Linked DNA regions of Homo sapiens: region 1 is linked to region 2. Evidence: promoter capture Hi-C in 16 types of primary human blood cells and fetal thymus (Javierre and others, 2016). All regions are on one chromosome and are shown on one strand. The core of a region is centred on a gene start or on the middle of the fragment in contact, and the rest is flanking DNA. Distances in the headings are between cores, read along the strand shown. Region 1 overlaps EGF (epidermal growth factor). Region 2 holds the start of SEC24B (SEC24 homolog B, COPII component).

Evidence for each region. Contacts are between HindIII fragments. The CHiCAGO score rates a contact against its expected background, and 5 or more counts as called.
Region 1: a fragment that was not itself captured here is called in contact with the fragment with the promoter of SEC24B in region 2 in 1 of 17 cell types (M2 macrophages); the score reaches 5.4 in M2 macrophages.

What each region holds. Positions count from the first base shown.
Region 1 is chr4:109,957,768-109,961,420 of GRCh38, reverse strand. EGF (epidermal growth factor) reads right to left here. Exons shown (of 24, transcript NM_001963.6): 6 at 1,984-2,109; 7 at 432-554. Among named protein-coding and RNA genes, the nearest start is that of EGF, 47 kb to the right of the region's middle. RefSeq lists an enhancer at 2,131-2,300. The HindIII fragment of the contact is 2,323 bases long and covers 1,185-3,507 here.
Region 2 is chr4:109,432,474-109,435,859 of GRCh38, reverse strand. It overlaps SEC24B (SEC24 homolog B, COPII component), which reads right to left and starts at 2,045. Exons shown (of 24, transcript NM_006323.5): 1 at 1,858-2,045. The coding sequence starts at 1,990. It overlaps SEC24B-AS1 (SEC24B antisense RNA 1), which reads left to right and starts at 2,043. Exons shown (of 3, transcript NR_039978.1): 1 at 2,043-2,126. RefSeq lists enhancers at 1,066-1,215, 1,292-2,151 and silencers at 1,033-1,327, 1,706-1,975, 2,026-2,415. The HindIII fragment of the contact is 940 bases long and covers 1,198-2,137 here.

The DNA of each region.
Region 1 (3,653 bases), core at 1,097-3,596, 530 kb before region 2:
AGAGGTTCTGATTTGATAGGTCTGGGGTAGAGTCCAGTCATCCATGGTTTTTGTTTTGTTTTGCTTTTTGAGACAGGGTCTCACTCCATCACCCAGGAAGGGCAGTGGCTTGATTTCGGCTCACTGCAGCCTCCTCCTCCTGGTTCAAGTGATCCTTCTGCCTCAGCCTCCTCAGTAGCTGGGACCACTGGCATGGGCCAACATGCCTGGCTAAGTTTTTTTTTTTTTTGTATTTTTAGTAGAGATAGGGTCTCACCATGTTGCCCAGGCTGGCAGTCATCCATGTTTTAAAAAGCCAAACAAAATAAAACTCAAAGGTAATTATGATGCACACTGCTGATTGAAGATCACCAACCCAGATCATAGCCACCTTAGAAACATATTGAAAATGAAGAAAACTAATGCAATAAATACTTGTTGCTATAACTTACGATGACATCGTTTCCCATCAGGAAGCAGAACAAATCCTACAGGGCACGTGCAGTAATAGGATCCAGGGGTGTTTTTACACCCAAGAGTACAGCCATGATTCCAAAAAGCACATTCATTAACATCTGCACAATGACAACAGCACAATACATTCAAATGGCTATTTTTGAAAATAAATTGTGCTATCACTAATAAGTCATCACAACGCAGGGTATCTCACACTTGTATATGCTGTAATTGATCATGGAAAGTCTGTTTTCCATACTCTAGCAAAGGGTAAAATAAGTCAATTAAATGATGATAAAAGCCATTTCTATTCTGTCACATTTTATGCTTTTGTTTTCCCCGAGATAGAGTCTGGCTCTGTCACCCAGGCTGGAGTGCAATGCCACGATCTCAGCTCACTGCAACCTCTGCTTCCCAAGCTCAAGTGATCCTCCCACCTCAGCCTCCTGAGTAGCTGGGACTACAGGTGCACACCACAACACTCAGCTAATTTTTGTATATTTTGTAGACATGGGGTTTTGCTACATTGCTCAGGCTGATCTTGAACTCTGGGACTCAAGTGATCTGCCCGCCTTGGCTTCCCAAAGTGCCGAGATTACAAGTGTGAGTCACCACGCCTGGCCCAGCTTATACTTTCAAATACAGATTTTCATATTAGAATAACCCTTGGGAAAAAGGTAGTATTATTTCCCTTGAAAAGATATAGCATGCCATTTCAGTTAGGGACTCTTGAAAGCTCTTTACAAGCTTAGGACATTTCCTATTGTGCTCTTCAACCTTCAAGACTGACCAGAGCCCTTTCCCTAAATGTGGAAACCTTCTCCAGCAGTTTTATTCTGGCTGAAGCCCCAGCCTTCCAGCTCACTATCTCTATGCCATGGCTTTCACCCATTGGTCCCATGTAAGCAGGGGGTTATAATTAACAGGCAGATGCTAGATTTACCTGAGGTCTCACCCCAGCTAATTCCACTGTATGTGTGCTGCAGCCATTGGATTCTTTTCATCACTAAACTACTGCACCTTCCAGGAAAAAGGACATAGTATTTCTCCTGAGTTCGTTGCACTTGGTCCAGAATCTCAAAACAGGAGGATTCTTAGACAAACCAGCCTGGCTCAGTTTCCCAGGCTTCCTACTAGATCTTCTTGGGATAAGATAGGAGTCACAGACTCTTTGAGACTCTTACGATCCCTATGAAACCACTCCCCTAAAAATGTACACATACTGAAATTTTGCACACAAACGCAGAGGTTGGTAGAATCCACTTAGAGAATCCCTGCCTTATATCAACCCCTAAGCATCCTCTCAGTGTTTGATCTAGAAACACAAGATATGAAGATAGGAAAGTATTATAAAGGTTTTACAAACAAGAAAAAATAAATAAAAAATAGTCTTCAGGGGTTGTGTGGGGGACGGGGAGAATGGACTTGAAGTTGGTTTTCCACTGAGTCTCTGGCTGGCCCACTGAAGACAAGCCGCTGGCTCAGTTGAGCATTCCTCCCCTCAAGCAGCGACTCTTCCATTACCTTCACAGTACTTCCAGTCATTACCTTCACAGTACTTCCGGTCTCGACTTAGGGCGTATCCCTCTGCACACATGCACAAGTGTGACTGGAGGTCTTGCCCACACACAGTGCTGCTGCAGTTTCCTTTCCTCAATTTGCAAAGTTTCTGCTCTAAAAGAGAAGATGCTTTATTTGGAGTGGGGCCGTGTTTTGACAGAGGACACTGCTAAATCTTTTCCTGATTCTTAAGAGGTCTTACCTCCCTACAACGTCTACAGCTGCATCTCTCACGGAGGCAAACTTAGCCAGAGCCCAGATTCCCCAGCATCCCGAAGCCCACTTTTTTCTCCAATTGTATTACTTCTCCAAAACCTCTCAGGATTGGGCATCCTGATTAGCTGGAGATGTCATTTCTTAGGTTGCGAATACTAAACACTACTTATTAGCTTTTTCATTCTAATGTACTTTTATCACAAAAAAGCACACATTCTGCAAATGAAATAATCTGCTTAGGAAATGAAAACAGATTCAAACCTAAGAATACTTTTTTTTTTTTTTTTTTTTTGAGACAGGGTCTCCCCCTGTCACCCAGGCTGGAGTGCAGTGGCACAATCTTGGCTCACTGCAACCTCAGCCTTCTGTGTTCAAGCGATTCTCCTGCCTTGGCCTCCTAAGTAGCTGGGATTACAGGTGCACACCACCACACCTGGCTAATTTTTGTATTTTTAGTAGAGACGGGGTTGGCCAGGCTGGTCTCGAACTCCTACCTCAAGTGATCTGCCCACCTCAGCCTCCCAAAGTGTTGGGATTATAGGCATGAGCCACTGTGCCTGGCCAAGAATACTTTTTAAGTGTAATATTTATAGGTTAGATATGTAAGCTATTTAGCTGTTTTTAACATCATTATTTAATGAACATCTTTCAGACTCAATATATACCATTGCCATATCTCTGCTCCTCAAATTTCTGTAGTTATTGCTGCCAGTGTCCCACGTGTTCCAAATATTCCATAATAAACAGTAAAATCTGCTCAGCGAGTTGGGTGTTTGGGTTGAATTAGCCAGCTATATTGAATAAGTGGTCAATTTTGTACCATTGGGATTTTCAGAGCCAGAATCAAGGGCTAAACTAGTAACACCTACAGTTGGCCCTCCATATCTGTGGATTCAACCAACTTAGGACTGAAAATATTTGGGAAAAAAAATTCCACAAAGCAAAGTTCCAAAAAGCAAAACATGAATTTGCCACATGCCAAGCACTATGTTGAATTCACAGGAATGAAGTGATGTAGGCATTGTATTAGGTATTATAAGTAATTTGGAGATGATTTAAAGTATATGGGAGGATGTGGCTAGGTTATATACAAATACACCGTTTTATATTAGAACTTAAGCATCTGCAGATTTGGGTATCTTGGGGGATACCAATCCCCCACGGATACTGGGGGACAACTGCATATCTCTTTCCAAAAAGTTAATGAGATTTTTGTCTCTTTTGCACCTTATTTTTTGCCCATTTTAAAAACAATAGCACCATTGTAAAATACTATGAGAAATACAGTAGCAAGCTTGAGCGTAAGGGCAGATACCTAGAATGCAGGTAGATACAGAGGCCAGAGGCCTGGCAAGAGGTGAAGGCCAAGGAAAACTATTGGGGTCATGGATTCTGAAGCCATGGCATTGTTAAAATCAGCTAGAGCTGATGTATCATGGGAA
Region 2 (3,386 bases), core at 796-3,295:
AGCCAGAACCAATTCAAACATTACCAAATACAGGGCAAGTCAGGAGAGAGGCAGGGACTCTGTCTCATCTGCTACCCTAACCTTGAGTCCCCAACTGGTAAGCATGCAATAAATGTTGAAATGATTATTGCAACATTAAAGGAAAGTAGTGATTATAAACAAGAGAACTCAAGCATCATCTATATTTGGCATCAAAACATTGATTTGTTCTTACAGATTTTAACATCCTGATTACACTTGGCTGAGTACATATCCTGGCATTCTTGAGTGTTCACAAAATTTATAAGGCTGTAATAAACATTTGCCACTTTAAAAACTGTTCACTAAGATGATAATGCATATTCAGAAAATCAAGGAAAGACACAATCCTTGAATCACTGGTAAACATGAGTCTACAATGTTCTAAAAGACTTGGGCTCTTTTACTAAATTATCGTGTTCTAGTTCCTTCATAAAGCTATTTTAAAAACAAACAAAAACAAGAACTTATATTAAGGTTACAAGAACAAACACTGCTCACAAATAGTATTTTTACATTTGTTCAGAACAGGTTTATATCCAAAAGCGATTATAGTAAACAATGACTACTGAGAGTACAGCATGTAATACTGATAGGTAAGGCTGATCCAAAGAATATTAAGGCTAAAGTATCACTCAACTTCTGATCCTCAGGACAAACGATACACTTCATGTTTGAAAAGCATCAGTTGTAAAACTTAGATGTTGATTAAACTAATTCATAAAGTCCAGCAGATTTTCATTAGGAAATTAGATAAAACAGGTCAATCATCTGGAGAGTACTAATGCAGTTTGGTTCTCGTACCAACACAGGACAGAGGTATTTTTCTAAATTCAGTCAATTACTTTCCAAGGTTCTCATCTGACATACTAAGAAGTCTGTAAGGAGAATTCCTCCACCCTTGGCCCCTATCCGCGAACATTCCAAATCTCAGCATTAGGGAATGCATATCCATCATTTTGCAGCCTACTAAAAGCCCACGACCTTAATATGAAAGCGGCTTTCGTGCTGCATTTGGCTGCTGCCTGTATGAAGGCCCTGCCTCAAAGCAGGGCCAACTCTGGCACGTTTTTTCATCTCTGAAAGTGGAGCTAGGAAAAACACCCAGATCTAAAGATGTTCGTTTAAATCCGTTTACATCTGCTCCCTTTCAAACACTACAAGCAAACTCCAAAAGCTTGAGCAGCAGCCGCAGCGGCAATGACAGTTCTTGAGGCCGAACTGGGTCAGGGTTACAGTTACACTTATATAGCATATTTACACCCTTTTGTCTACAAACTTGAGTGCAAACTTAAGTTTCCTCAAGGCAGCGTGTTCGCTGGGCCTCGGGAACCGAAGCAATTTTCCTGAGACAGGAAGGGCACAATCCACCCTGCTGGGTGGCTGCACCAGCCTTCTCCGGACCACGCACTCAGCGGCCTCGGCTTCTGGCCAGCTCTCGCAGCCAAGGGGTCGCTCGGGGCAACTCGCCCGCGTCCAGGCTAGGTAACTGGGTTTTACTACGTGGGCTCCCAGCTTTTCAGTCGCCCCTACTCGCCCGAGGCCGTTTCGGGCCTGGGGTCGCATTACATAAACAGCCACGGCCCCAGCTTTCCCAGGCCGGCCCCCGCCCCCACGCCAGGGGCGTCCCACCCCCGCGCGCCCCGCGCCGTGCCTTCCCTGCCCCCTACCCGCACCCAACCCGGACCCCGCGGCCTCCGCACCGCGCCCGCTCCCGTCCCTCGGGCCGGGCCTGGCCCCGAACGCCCTTCCCGGCCCGGCCCGCCCCGCCCCGATGTGGCCGTGCAGGCCGCCCAGCCGGTGCTAGGCCCCGCGCTCCGCCCGGGCCGCCCGCCTCACCGTTCTGCTGGTGCGGCGCCGGGCCCGCACCCGGGCCCGCGGGCGCTGCGGCTCCTGAGACGGCCGCTCCGCCGAACTTGGGCGGGATCCGGGCGCTGGCGGCCGGGTGAGAGGACCCGGCGGGGGCCGACATGACGGCGCTGGTGGCGACGGCGGCTCCGCTTCAGGGAGGTGGGCGGAGGGAAGGGAAGGCGGGGCCGGAGAGGAGAGAGGAAGAGGAAGGAACGCGCCTGGCGTCACTGAGGGTGTCACCCGGGACCGCGGCTCAGGTACCCAAGCTTCTCCGCGAGTCCAGCGCTGCCACTCGGCGGCCGCCGCGGGCGCGGGGATCCTGGGTCGCTCCGCCTTGACCCACGCGCCCCACGCCCCGGGACTTACACCTGGGGTCGCTCCCCGCACGCGCGGGCCTCGCGCCGGTGCCGCCGCAGCGCCCCCTGCAGGCCGGAGCCGAGCTGGCCCAGGCCTGAGTCTGGCCCGGGGTTCCGTGGCCCCAGTGCCGGCCCCGCGGCTGCTGCTCCGGCCCGGCCAGGTGCCTTCGTGTTGAGGCGAAAGGACTGGGCCTCAGTGGGTGAAGGGACCGGGTGGCCCGCTTCCACCTAGGGCAGAGGCTGGATCGGCCGCGGCGAGGCTGGGCCCAGCATTACTGGGAGGGGAACTTGAGAGCCGCGGGTTGATGTTCGGAGCTCAGGCGACGACTGACCACCCACCCTTCCTCGAAGAGGAACAATGGCTTGGGTTTGGTTTTTAATTTTTGATTCCCCCACCTCCCCTTTCTTGATTCCAAAGGAAATATAGCATTCAAGCGCCATGTCTGTTGGGAATATATAATTCCTTGGCAAAGAAAGAGGAAACATTTCTCTGATAAACACAAGAATCTCAGTAAGAATTGCATTATTGAGAACTTTTCCCACTGATAAAGTAGGGAAGAGGAAGGGGAAAATAGGGTAAGGGAATGCTGGAAGACAAACTTTAAACTTTATCTCCTTTTTTTTTTTTTTTTTTGTCGATTGTTGGTGCATCCTGTTGGTGTTCCGAGAAGTTGTGGCTCAGCTTGCTTTGTCTACATTAGTGGAATCTTTAAGTCTTTCTGGTCTGTCTCAGCATACTCACTGGCAGGCCCTAGACTACATTACCCAAGTCATTTTGCCGTCTTGGAATCCTGAGTATGTCATCACTCTGTATTGGAGATGAGATTGCTCAGAAACACTGAATTCAGAATGGGATCTAGCAAGATGGTATTTCTGGAGCAATAAGTCATTTACTGAATGATTATGCAAAGCATAAATTGCATTGTAGTCCTAGAATAATACAAAGCTTCCCTTTAGTTGTTGCCGTAAATTAATAACTGGCATTTTAATGCACTAAATGAATTTTAGTAGTTAGATTTATATCTTTGACTTCTAGGAATTTCAACTACATTAGAGTTCATATACACAAAAGGGGCAAGCCCTTTTCCACAGCATTTCCAGCTTCTCCACAGAAACCTAGCCCCACATGAGCAAAAGATCACACTCTGTGCTTCATCAAAG